3 separate regions of the Homo sapiens genome follow, and all the other regions are linked to region 1. The links are contacts of gene promoters, found by promoter capture Hi-C in human tissues and cell types (Jung and others, 2019). All regions are on one chromosome and are shown on one strand. Each heading gives the region's core, a stretch centred on a gene start or on the middle of the fragment in contact. The rest is flanking DNA. Distances are from core to core; before and after follow the strand shown.

The links. Contacts are between HindIII fragments. The study calls those that stand out against the background at their distance.
Region 2: a contact is called between a fragment that was not itself captured here and the fragment with the promoter of GNA15 in region 1, in 1 of the 25 tissues and cell types used here (pancreas).
Region 3: the fragment with the promoter of CREB3L3 here is called in contact with the fragment with the promoter of GNA15 in region 1 in 1 of the 25 tissues and cell types used here (lymphoblastoid cells).

Annotation. Positions count from the first base shown.
Region 1 is chr19:3,133,947-3,138,326 of GRCh38, reverse strand. GNA15 (G protein subunit alpha 15) reads right to left here and starts at 2,294. Exons shown (of 7, transcript NM_002068.4): 1 at 1,732-2,294. The coding sequence starts at 1,876. The HindIII fragment of the contact is 27,733 bases long and covers 1-4,380 here.
Region 2 is chr19:4,216,557-4,220,936 of GRCh38, reverse strand. It overlaps ANKRD24 (ankyrin repeat domain 24), which reads right to left. Exons shown (of 22, transcript NM_001393985.1): 18 at 2,774-4,380; 19 at 1,179-1,346. Among named protein-coding and RNA genes, the nearest start is that of EBI3, 11 kb to the left of the region's middle. RefSeq lists an enhancer at 4,258-4,380. The HindIII fragment of the contact is 4,281 bases long and covers 1-3,979 here.
Region 3 is chr19:4,151,720-4,156,099 of GRCh38, reverse strand. CREB3L3 (cAMP responsive element binding protein 3 like 3) reads right to left here and starts at 2,469. Exons shown (of 10, transcript NM_032607.3): 1 at 2,326-2,469; 2 at 1,073-1,201. The coding sequence starts at 2,352. The HindIII fragment of the contact is 37,156 bases long and covers 1-4,380 here.

The DNA.
Region 1 (4,380 bases), core at 1,045-3,544:
AAACAAGCTACGGGAATGAGAAGACCCCGAGGTTTCAGAGATCAGAATTTTTTTTTTTTTGAGACGGAGTTTTGTTCTTGTTGCCCAGGCTGGGGTGCAATAGTGCAATCCTGGCTCACTGCAGCCTCCACCTCCTGGTTTCAAGCGATTCTCCTGCCTCAGCCTCCCCAGTAGCTGGGATTACAGGCACATGCCACCACACCCGGCTAATTTTTTTGTATTTTGAGTAGAGACGGGGTTTCGCCACGTTGACCAGGCTGATTTCGAACTCCTGGCCTCAAGTGATCTGCCCGCCTTGGCGTCCCAAAGTGCTGGGATTACAGGCATGATTTATTTATTTATTTTATTTATATTTATTTATTTATTGACAATGAGTCTTGCTCTGTCATCCAGGCTGGAGTGCAGTGGCCCGATCTCAGCTCACTGCAACCTCTGCCTCCTGGGTTCAAGCGATTCTCATGCCTCAGCCTCCCGAGTAGCTGGGATTATAGCTGTGTGCCACCATGCCCAGCTAATTTTTGGTTTTGTTTGTTTGTTTATTTGTTTGAGATGGCGTCTCACTCTGTCGCCAGTCTGGAGTGCAGTGGCATGATCTCAGCTCACTGCAGTCTCCACCTCCTGGTTTCATGCAATTCCCCTGCCTCAGCCTCCCGAGTAGCAGGGACTACAGGCACGCACCACCACATCTGGCTAATTTTTGGTATTTTGGTAGAGATGGGGTTTCACCGTGTTGGTCAGGCTGGTCTCGATCTCCCGACCTTGTGATCCACCCACCTCGGCCTCCCAAAGTGCTGGGATTACAGGCATGAGCCACCATGCCTGGCAAATTTTTGGTATTTTAGTAGAGACGGGGCTTCACCATGTTGGCCTGGCTGTGTCTTGAACTCCTGACCTCAAGTGATCCCACCCGCCTGGGCCTCCCAAAGTGCTGAAATCACAGGCTTGAGCCACTGCACCCAGCCAGAGTTCAGAATCTTGAACCGTTACTGACGTCGACTCCCCCATCTGAAGCCTCCGCATGGAAGCCATCACCCTGTTTTGTTTTCTCCTAGATAATTCTTGTTGCCAGAATTATTTTATCTGCTTATGAGTTTACAGACTAAATGTCTTGGCTCCTTCACAGGAAATGAGATCCAGGAAGACAGAAATATCTTCCCCTGTTTGGCTGCCTCGTTCCTGGGAGCTACCCAATAAATCTTAAATGAATGAATAATGAATGAATGAACCAATGAACCAATCAATCCATCCTTTCTAGCCCCCAAAGGAGCCCTAGACAAGCCCTCTCCAGCCATGGCAGGGAGGTAAAGGCGAGAGGGAGCGTCCTGGTGAAGGAGAGGCTGGAGCCGGCCCCTCCCTTACGGGTGGGCTGGCCAGAACGGGTTGCACACCTGAGCTCATCATTCCCTCGCCATGACACAGACAGGTAGGGCGTGCTGGGCCTGCCCGGCAGGGGCCCGGTAGAGCCACGTCTGCTATTGTATATGCCCCACACAGTGGACAGGCCTGGGCACCTGGCCGCTGGTCGCACGTTGGACAAGGAACTTGGCTTCTCTGAACCTCAGTCTTTCTCATCTGGAAAATGGGTTCCAGGCTCCCCATTCCCTGGGAGGAGGCGACGGCTCCACGATGCCAATGTCTGACCTAGCCTGATCCGCCTCCTTGCCCCGACACCCCTGCCGGCTGGCCACCGCCCACTGCCCACCACCCACCGCCCACCGACCCTGGACTCACCCAAAAGCAGCAGCTTCAGCTCCCCGCGGTCCTGCTTCTTCTGCTCCAAGAGGATCCTGTTGATCTCCTGGTCCACCCGGGCGGCGGCCTTCTCATCCTCCGTCAGGCACCAGGGGCAGCAGCGCCAGGTCAGCGAGCGGGCCATGGTGCGGTGGCCTCAGTCGGCACCGGGTGGCATCGCCCCCGGGCCCCTGCTGGCCAGGGCAACCCCCAGCCCAGCCGGCCCTGGAGAGGGCTCCGGGCAACCGGGTGCGCAGGGAGGCTGCCTTTTCCTTGGGGGTCACCCCCCAGGGACCTAGACTTCCTTGCCTGAAACACCCAGGAAGCCCGGCTCGGCGGTGGCAAGGCTTGAGTGCTGGGAACAGGGTGGGGACGGGAGGAGGTGGGGAGGCCAGGGCTCCCCGCCCACCTCCAGACCTGCTCAGACCCGGCCCGACAGGTTGACGGTGAAGGGTGCCAGGAGAGGGTGAGGTGGGGGCCCCAGGGAGGGCGGGGCGGTGGCGGGAAAACCCCCACCGCAGACTGGGTCCTGTGTGACCAGCAGGGCCCTTCTTCCTCCTTCTGGAGAAGGGGCGGATTCTCCTCAGGCTTCACCCGGAGCTGTCCCCCTCCTCGGAGCCAATCAGGAACCGTCAGACCCGTGCTACTGCTGATACATTATATATATATCATATATATATGTGTGTGTATATATATATATGTGTATATATATATATATATATATATATATATATATATATATATATATATATTTTTTTTTTTTTTTTTGAGACAGAGTTTCACTCTTATTGCCCAGGCTGGAGTGCAGTGGCAGGATCTTGACTCTGCAACATCTGCCTCCCAGGTTCAAGCAATTCTCCTGCCTCAGCCTCTCGAGTAGCTGGGATTACAGGCATCCACCACCACGCCGGGCTAACTTTGGATTTTTAGTAGAGAAAGGGTTCCACCACGTTGGCCAGGCTGGTCTCAAACTCCTGACCTCAGGTGATCCACCCGCCTCGGCCTCCCAAAGTGCTGGGATTGCAGGCATAAACCACCACGCTCGGCCCTTCTGATATATTTTTAAGAAACAGCTCAGGCCAGGTGTCATGGACTGTTTCCAGCGACTCTGCCCTGACCTCAGGTGATCCACCCTGCAGAGGTGGGCAGCTTGCCTGAGGTCAGGAGTTCGAAACCAGCCTGGCCAACATGGCGAAACCCTGTCTCTACTAAAGATACAAAAATTAGCCGGGTTTTGGCTCACATTAGCTGGTTTTACACTCACATCACCCTGTATAGTTACTACTGTCATCCCTGTTTGACTGATGAGGAGGTTGAGGCATAGAGCAGGGGAGTGACCGGTGGGGCTGGCACAAGGCAGAGCCGGGAGCCTATCCCTCACCTGCGGGGCCCCAGAGTCTAGACGCCTACCAGGCAGATTCCAGGCAGGGCCATCCCTTCATTGTGCGTGCATTCATGGAGCGCCAACTGTGTGCCAGGCACGGTAGCCAAGAGACACAGATCCCAGACCTCCTTACCTAAGGTTCTAGTTAAAGAACAGATAATAAAATAAATTTTAGGCTGGGCCTGGTGGCTCACGCATGTAATCCCTATACTTTGGGAGGCCAAGGCGGGCAGATCACAAAGTCAAGAAATCGAGACCAGCCTGGCCAACACGGCGAAACCCCGTCTCTACTAAAAATACAAAAATTAGCCGGGCGTGGTGGTGCACGCCTGTAGTCCCACCTACTTGGGAGGCTGAGGCAAGAGAATCGCTTGAACCCGGGAGGCAGAGGTGGCAGTGAGCTGAGATCGTGCCACTGCACTCCAGCCTGGCGACGAAGTGAGACTCCATCTCAAAAAAAATAAAAAATAAAAGAATAAAAAATTTGGCCAGGTGAGTGCGGGAGCTCACATCTGTAATCAAAGTACTTTGGGAGGCCGAGGCAGGAGGATCACTTGAAGTCAGGAGTTTGAGACCAGCCTGGCCAACATGGAGAAACTCCATCTCTACTAATACAAAAATTAGTTGGGCATGTTGGCACGCACCAGTAGTCCCAGCTACTTGGGAGGCTGAGGCAAGGGAATCACTTGAACCCCGAAGATGGAGGCTGCAGTGAGCCGAGATCATAACACTGCTCTCCAGCCTGGGCAACATAGTGAAACCCTGTCTCCAGAAACAAACAAAACAAAACTCTCCCTCTCTCTCTATGTATATATATACACACACACACATACATATATATACACATACATATATATACACAATATATAGACACACATACATATATGTATATACACATACATATATACACATACATATATATACACAATATATAGACACACATACATATATACACATACATATATACACACATAAAAGTATACATTTTAATATACATATATGTATATTATACATAAAAATATATATGTGTGTATATATATACACACACGTGTAAAATATATATATTTTTTAATACACCTGAGCCCGTTGGATGGTGAAAAATTCTGCCAGAAAAATTAAGCAGAGATGTTGTTGGGGAAGGTTCAAGGTCATTGCTCTAAATGGATCAACAAAGGTCGCACAGACAAGTGATATTCAGGATCAGAAGTCAGACAGGCAGATCGGGTGTAAGAGGGACTTTGGGAGTGGACCTCACTGGTCAAGGA
Region 2 (4,380 bases), core at 590-3,089, 1.1 Mb before region 1:
TGACAAAGTGAGACTCTGCCAAAAAAAAAAAAAGCTTTCTGGCTTTTAGCGTTGCAGGAAGATTAAAAATGGTAATGTGTGAGGCCGGTCGCGGTGACTCACGCCTGTAATCCCAGCACTCTGGGAGGCCGAGGCAGGCGGATCACGAGGTCAGGAGATTGAGACCATCCCAGCTAACATGGTGAAACCCCATCTCTGCTAAAAATACAAAAAAATTAGCCGGGCGTGGTGGCAGGCGCCTGTAGTCCCAGCTACTCGGGAGGCTGAGGCAGGAGAATGGCGTGAACCCGGGAGGCAGAGTTTACAGTGAGCCAAGATCACGCCACTGCACTCCAGTCTGGGTGACAGAGCAAGACTCTGCCTCAGAAAAAAACAAAACAACAATAAAAAAAGGTAATGTGTGAAAAATTCCCAATCTAACACCTGGAGGCTGTTGTTATCATCATTAGTATTGTTTAGGAACGAAACGTGGGAACGTGGGTACAAACCCAGCTGAAAGACTGCATGGCTGTGTGACCTTAGGCAAGTGACTTCACCTCTCTGTGCTTCTGTTTCCTCAAATGGGGATAATAAAAGCCCCTATCCTGTGAGAACTGGATGTGACTAAATGCATCCAGTCCACAGGGCCTGGCATGCAGTAAGCACTCAATAAATGTAACTGTGGAGACAGACGCAGTGGCTCACGCCTGTAACCCCAGCCCTTTTGGGGGCTGAGGCAGGCGGATCACTTGAGCTCAGGAGTTCGAGACCAGCCTGGCCAACGTGACGAAACCCCATCTCTACTAAAAATATAAAAAATTAGCTGGGTGTGGTGTCGCATGCCTGTAATCCCAGCTGCTCGGGAGGCTGAGGCACGAGAATTGCTTGAACCCAGAGGTTGCAGTGAGCCGAGATCATGCCACTGCACTCCAGCCTGGGCGACAGAGCGAGACTCCGTCTCAAGTAAAAAAATAAAATAAATGTAACTGTGGTTATAATTGGTACCTGGAACAGCAGCCTGTGTGTGTCTGACTTGTCAGAGGCTGTAACCAGGTCCCCTTCCGTTTCTGAGCCTCAGTTTCCCTTCTGGAAAATGGGTTGATTTTCCAAGGCCCTTGCAGTGAGGACCTTCGTAGATTGGCCCCAACCTTTGCTGAGTGGATGCCTCCCTGACTGAGTGTGGGAGAGGGGGCACCCACCTTCTTGTCCTTCTCCTTGGCCTTGTCCAGAGCCTCCTGGGCCCGGCTCTGGGCCTGGCGAGCCCTTTCCGCCTCGGTCCGTAGCCCCCGTAGCTGCTGCTCTGCTGTGGCCAGCTGTGCCTCGGCTGCGTGTCGCTCACTCTTCATGAACAGGGCCTCACGCTGCACCTGTGGCCCAAGCCCACGCATGACTCTCAGGACACTAAGACTCCAATGATGCTAGACCCCAGAATTCATATGATCCTTCTACTTTGTTCTTTTGTTTTTGGATTTTTTTTAAGACAGGGTCTTGCTCTGTTGCTCCGGACCTGCACTCCTGGCTGGAGTGCGGTGGTGCGATCATGGCTCACTGTAGCCTCAATCTTTCAGGCTTAAGTGATCCTCCCACCTCGGCCTTCCAAGTAGCTGGGACCACAGGTGCCACCATGCCTGGCTACTATTTGCTTGTTTTTGTTTTGTTTTTGTTTTTTTTTGAGACAGAGTCTTGCTCTGTCGCCTAGGCTGGAGTGCAGTGGTGTAATCTCAGCTCACTGCAACCTCCACTTCCCGGGTTCAAGCGATTCTCCTGCCTCAGCCTCCCCAGTAGCTGGGATTACAGGCACGTGCCACAATGCCAACCTAATTTTTGTATTTTTAGTAGAGACGGGGTTTCACGATGTTGTCCAGGCTGGTCTCGAACTTGTGACCTCAGGTGATCCACTCACCTTGGCCTCCCAAAGTGCTGGGATTACAGGCGTGAGCCACGGTGCCCGGCCATGAGCTCAGGTGTTTGAGACCAGCGTGGGCAACATGGCAAAACCCTGTCTTTACAAAAAATTAAAAAGTTAGACGAGCATGGTGGTGCACACCTGTGGTACCAGCTACTTGGGAGGCTGAGGTGGGAGGATTACTTGAGCCCAGGAGGTGGAGGTTGCAGTGAGCTATGATTGTGCCACTGCACTCCAGCCTGGGTGACTGGGTGACTTTTCAGACAGAGCCACACCCTGTCTGAAAAAAAAAAAAAAAGAAAGGAAGGGAAGGGGAAGGGGGGAGGGAAGGGGGATGAAGAAAGAAAGGAAAGAGAGAGGAAGGAAGGAGAAATAAAGAGAAAGAAAGAGAGAAAACACAAGTGGAAAATTCCAAGAGGTCAGGATGGCTGCAGGGTCAAATGTCTGTTCAAGGCCAGGTGCGGAGGCTGATGCCCATAATCCCAGCACTTTGAGAGGCTGAGGTGGGTGGATCACCTGAGGTCAGGAGTTCAAGACCAGCCTGGCCAACACGGTGAACTCCCATCTCTACTAAAAATACAAAAGTTAGCTGGGCGTGGGGGCAGGTGCCTGTAATTCCAGCTACTCCGGAGGCTGAGGCAGGAGAATCACTTGAACCGGGAAAGAGGAGGTTGCAGTGAGCTGAGATCACACCACTACACTCCAGCCTGGGCGACACGAGTGAAACTCCATCTCAAAAATAAATAAATAAATAAATAAATAAATAAAATAAAGTAGGTCTGTTCAAGTAAAACTGATGGGTTCAAAACACCTCAAGGCTGCGGGGCTAAAACAGGCCGCCACGTGGCCAATGGGGGTGGGGCCCGGGTGGTGACCAGCCCTGCTCACCTGGAAGACCTCTGCGCTGGTCTTCTCATGCCGCCGTCCCAGCTCCTCCAGCTGCCCCTCCAGCTGGGCCACGTTGGCCTGCAGGGTGCCCACGATGCGTTCGTGCTCCGAGAGCGCCACGCTGCACACACGCTCCCGCTCCAGCTCCGCGCGCAGCCGGGCGGCCTCCTTGCCCGTGGCCACCACCTCCTGCTCCAGACTGGCTGCCCGGCCCCGCAGCTCCAGGGCCTCCTCCTGCAGCCGGCGGTGCTCAGAGGCCGGCACCACGGACTGGCGGAGGGCCTCGGAGGCCTCCCGCAGCTCGGCCAGGCCCTGCCGCGCCTCCTCGCAGGCCGCAGGCAGCTCAGCCACTCGGGCCTCAGCGGCGTCCCGTGCCCGGCCCAGTTCCGCGGCCGCCGTGCGCTGCTGCTCCCCCGTGGCCCTGGCCGTGGCCAGCTGCTCCCGCAGAACCTCCAGCTCCCGGCTCTGCTCCAGCCGCGCCTCCTCCCGCTGGGCCAGCTCGGCCCGCAGGCCCCGCGCCTCCTCCTCCGCCAGCAGCCGGCTGGCCCGAGCCTCATCCAGGCAGGCCGAGGCCGCCTCCAGCTCCCGCAGGCGGGAGTCCCGGTCTCGGAGGTCCTCCCGGGCCTGCTCCAGGGCCGCCCGCAGCTGTGTGGTGTCACCGCCACCGCCCCCGCTGGCCCCGCTGCCCTCGGCCTCGCGGACACGCTCTCGCAGCCGGCCTGCCTCGGCCTCCGCGGCCTCGCACTTCCCCAGGGCCGCCTCCAGCTCCGCAGCTGCCTCCCGCTCCCGCTGCCGGAGAGCCTCCTCCAAGCCACGGATCCTGGTCTCCAGCTCTACTTGAAGCTTTTCCGAGGCCTCTGCGGCACCAGGATGTAGGATGGGGCCAGCAGAGATCCCCGGGACCGTGGCCTCTACCCCTGGGTTCTCCACACCTGTGGCACTGACTCCTGTGGATTCCATCCCTGTGGCCCTAGAGCCCGTGGCCTCCATGTTTGTGGTCCCTGTGACTGGGGGCTCTGCTTGCCCAGCACCCACTCCGTAGGCCTGCATTTCTGCTTCCTCTGCTTTTGTTTTTGTGGCCTCCACCCCCATGGCCTCCACTCCCGTGGTCTCTGTGTCTGTGGCCTGAGCTCCTGTGGGCTTAGTTTCCATGTTTGCTTCTTCTTCTGTGGTCTCCATTTCTCTGACCTCAGCCCCTGTGGGTTTTGTTTCTGTGACCTTGGCTCCTGTGGCCTCAGCTCCCGTGGCCTCGGCTCCCGTGGCCTCAGCTTCCATAGTCCTGGCTTCCATGGTTTCATCTCCTGCAGCCTCCTCATCTATGGTCTCGGCTCCGTTAACTTTGGTTTCTGGAGCCACTGAGCCATTTAGCTCCATGTGGGTTGGCCCGTTTTTGGTGGCCGTGGCTCCAGCAACCTCACTCTCCCCACAGGCTGCCCCCTCTTCTCTGGGGACCTCTCGTGTCTCCTGCTGCCTCAGGGCCTGCAGGGCCTCAGCGTGCTGCCTGCGTAGCTGGTCAAACTCGGCCCGGAGAGAGTCATAGAGGGCAAGAGGGATGACCTCTGCCAAAGCTTCCACTTCCATCTGTGTCTCGTCCTTCTCAAAGTTCT
Region 3 (4,380 bases), core at 1,220-3,719, 1.0 Mb before region 1:
GAGAGAGAGAGAGAGAGAAACGAGAGAGAGAGAGAAAGAAAGAGAAAAAAGGGCCGGGTGTGGTGGCTCACGCCTATAATCCCAGCACTTTGGGAGGCCAAGGCAGGTGGATCACCCGAGGTCAGAAGTTCAAGACCAGCCTGGCCAACATGGTGAAACCCCATCTCTACTAAAAACACAAGAAATTAGCCGAGCGTGGTGGCGGCTGCCTGTAATCCCAGCTACTCGGGAAGTTGAGGTAGGAGAATCACTTGAACCTGGGATGCGGAGGTTGCAGTGAGCCAAGATCGCGCCATTGCGCTCCAGCCTGGGTGACAAGAGTGAAACTCTATCTCAAAAAAAAAAAAAGAGAGTAAAAGAAAGAGGGAGAAAGGAAGGAAAAAAGGAAGGAAGGAAGGAAGGAAAGAGAAAAAGAGAGAGAAAAGAAAGAAAAAAAAGAAAGTGGGCCGGGCGCGGTGGCACACGCCTGTAATCTCAGCACTTTGGGAGGCTGAGGTGGGTGGATCACAAGGTCAGGAGTTCAAGACCAGCCTGGCCAGGATAGTGAAACCCATCTCTACTAAAAATACAAAAATTAGCCAGGTGCAGTGGCGGGCGCCTGTAATCCCAGCTACTTGGGAGGCTGAGGCAAGAGAATCGCTTGAACCCGGGAGGCAGAGGTTGCAGTGAGCCGAGATGGCACCACTGCACTCCAGCCTGGGCAACAGAGCGAGACTCCTTCAAAAAAAAAAAAAAGAAGAAGAAAGAGAGAAAGGAAGGAGAGGAAGGAGAAGAGAACCGAACCTAGCCAGGGAGATGCCCCAAGTTTGAGTTTGAACCTAACTCCAAATTGCTGTGTGACTTTGGATGAGTTTCCACCCTGCTCTGGGCCTCCATTCCCCACCTGTAAGAAGGAGCTGATGCTACCCGCTAAATGATGTGCTTGGCTAAAATCAAGCACCGTGACCCATTAGTGCATCGTAGAGCTGAGCAGAGCTCTGGCTGGGCTCTGGCGGGTCTAGCACCTTCGTGGGGCCTCAGTTGGCCCGCCTGGAGCTCTGTGGTCCCGGGGCAACTGCAGTGGACTCCTCACCTGGTCCTTGACGTGACCCCAGCCCTCGCCCAGCTCCACGTGTCTCAGGATGCCGTCCTGCCGGTCAAACAGGAGATCCAGGAGCTCAAAGCTGTCGATGGGGTCCATGGAGCAGGCAGCAGAAGCCATCTGGGGCGCGAGGAACAGATGTGAGGGTCACATACAGCCCCTGTCCTCCCCACCTCCCATGTGCACATAACCCTGGCTCTTTCCGGCTAGAGTTCAGTTGCCGCTCTGCCTCCGGGTTGGGCCAGCTGCTGCCCCTCGCTGAGACTCCCTTTCCAAATCTGGACTTTGAGGCTGATAGAGAGAATTCCACAGTGTGAGAGCCAATTTCTCTTAAAGTGCTGGAGAGGCTGGATGTGGTGGCTCATGCCTGTAATCTCAGCACTTTGGGAGGCCGGGGCAGGAGGATCACTTGAGCCCAGGAGTTCAAGACCAGCCTGCGCAACATAGAGACCCCTATCCCTACTGCAAATAATTTAAAAAAATTAGCTGGCTGCGGTGGCACACACTTGTCGTCCCAGCTACTGGGGAGGCTGAGGTAGGAGGATCCCTTGAACCCAGGAGGTTGAGGCTGCAGTGAGCTATGGCCACCCCACTGCACTCCACCCTGGGTCACAGAGCAAGACCTTGTTTCAAAAAACAAAAAAGTATGGCAGGCACGGTGGCTCACATCTGTAATCCCAGCACTCTGGGAAGCCGAGGCGGGCAGCTCACCTGAAGTCAGGAGTTTGAGACCAGCCTAGCCAACATGGTGAAACCCTGTCTCTAGGAAAAGTACAAAAATTAGCCGGGCGTGGTGGTGCACACCTGTAATCCCAACTACTTGGGAGGCTGAGGCAGGAAGATCTCTTGAACCCAGGAGGTGGAAGTTGCAGTGAGCTGAGATCGTGCCATTGCACTCTAGCCTGGGTGACAGAGGGAGACTCCATCTCAAAAAATAAAAATAAAAATAAAATAAAATAAAATAAAAAGTGCTGGAGAGAGGCCCTAGCTAGAGATGCCGCTTGCCTCTCAGGCCTTCACAGCCTCCCCAAGTGCCCGCTCCTAGGAGGCAGGGGGACCTGGAAGAAAGACAAGGGCAGCCCCGGGGCAAAGGCACACAGTTTTGCTCATTGCATCCTTTCTCTGGGCCTCAGTCTTCCCATCTGTACAATAGGGGTGGAGATGGGGTCCTTCCAGCTCTGGCAGCTTGGGTAGGCTTTCCCAGCCTAGACTCCCGCTCTCCCTGGGGACCTAGTAGGGCTCACCTTTCCAGCAGCTAAATCCGTATTCATGGGTCCATCCAGTTCTGTCTGCAGATGCCTCGGGGGGTCTCTGCTCCAAGCTGGAGGCCCACCCACCGCCAGCGTTACCTGGGGCCGGGCAAGCTCACAGCCCTCTGTGGCTCTGTCACCACTCCCAAAAGATGCTGAAGCGGTCACAGGCAGCTCCCAGCCCACCTCCAGGTGCTGATTGGTGGACAGGGTGGAGAGACAGGGTTGAGGGCCAGTGACACTGGGGCAGGCAGGAGCAGGGGAGGGAAGACCGTTATCTGGGTGTTTTGTGGTTTTCCAGCCCTCAGTGAGCAAAGGTCGAAGTCTGGGGTACCTCCACTCTGCCGTGACCTCTGCCCTACTTATGAGGACTTTTTCTTTTTTTCTTTCTTTTTTGAGACGGAGTCTCGCTCTGTGGCCCAAGCTGGAGTGCAGTGGTGCCATCTCATTTCGGCTCACTGCAACCTCTGCCTCTTGGGTTCAAGTGATTCTCCTGCCTCAGCCTCCCGAGTAGCTGGGACTACAGGTCCCCATCACCATGCCCGGCTAACTTTTGTATTTTTAGTAGAGACGAGGTTTCATCATGTTTTCCAGGCTGGTCTCGAACTCCTGACCTCGTGATCGGCCCCTCAGTCTCCCAAAGTGCGGGGATTACAGGCGTGAGCCACCGCACCCGGCCAGTTACAGGACTTTTTCTCTTCAGAATTCCCAGATGGGTTCTGGGATAGCCCAGGGCCCTTACATGGGTCCTGTCCACTCCCTGGACAGAAACAAACCAAGAGGACCAGACCAGATCTTCACTGAAGCCAGTTTTCCTGCCAGCAGCTAGCGGCTCCCATCCTTCACCCCACCTGCCAACCTCCGGCCCCCAGCCCCCTCCGAAACCAGCTTGGACTCCGCCTCTGAGTCCCCATGGGTGATTCTGTGCAATCAATTCTCTCTAGAATCTTCTATCGTTCATTGAGTCAACAAATATTTATGGAGCCAAACTGGTTCCTGCTTAGGGCCTTTGCACCTACTCACCTGCTCGCCCCTCTGCCTGGAACTCTCCTCTTGTACCCTCCCTCTTCCCCTCTGGCTCTAGGTCACTGTATTGACATTTTAGTGAATGTTCGATATTTGTGAATCAGCCCGGGTGGCTGAGAGGTGTCTCTGACCTCCCCTCCACCCCCTACCAAGAGAGAGGAGCCCTGTTTTGTTTTTTTGTTTTTTTTTTTGGTGTTGGTGGAGGACAGGGTCTCACTCTATTGCCCAGGCTGGAGTGCAGTGGCAGGATCATAGCTCACTGCAGCCTCCAACTCCTGGGTTCAAGTGATCCTCCCGTCTCAGCCTCCCAAGTAGCTAGGACTGCAGGCGTGCACCACCACACCTGGCTAATTTTGTTTTTTTTTTTTTATAGAGATGGGGTCTTACTGTGTTGGCCAGTATGGTCTCAAACTCCTGGGCTCAAATGATCCACCTGCTTCAGCCTCCCAAAGTGCTGGATTTACAGGCATGAGCCACTGTGCCCAGGCAAAGTCCCCCTTTAGCAGATGACATATTAGACCAAGCGTGGTGGCTCACATCTGTAATGCCAGCACTTTGGGAGGCCGAGGTGGGTGGATCACCTGAGGTCAAGAGTTTGAGACCAACCTGGCCAACATGGTGAAACCCCATCTGTACTAAAAATATAAAAATTAGATGGGTGTGGTAGCACATGCCTGCAATACCAGTACTCGGGAGGCCGAAGCAGGAGAATCACTTGAACCCAGGAGGCGGAGGTTGCAGTGAGCTGAGATCACACCACTGCACTCCAACCTGGGCGACAGTGAGACTCTGTCTCAAAAAAAAAAAAAATGACATGTTCAGTGCAGTCCTGAAGGATGAGATGGAACTGGCCCTGGGAAGGTCTGGGGAAAGGTGTCCCAGGCAGAGGCACAGTTTGTGCAAAGGCCCTGAGGCAGGTCCGTGCCTAGCGCATTGGAGGAACAGCAATGAGACCCCTGTGGCTGGAGCAGAGTGAGGAGAGGAAGACAGGCAGGAGAGGAAGACAGGGAGGAGGGGAAGGCA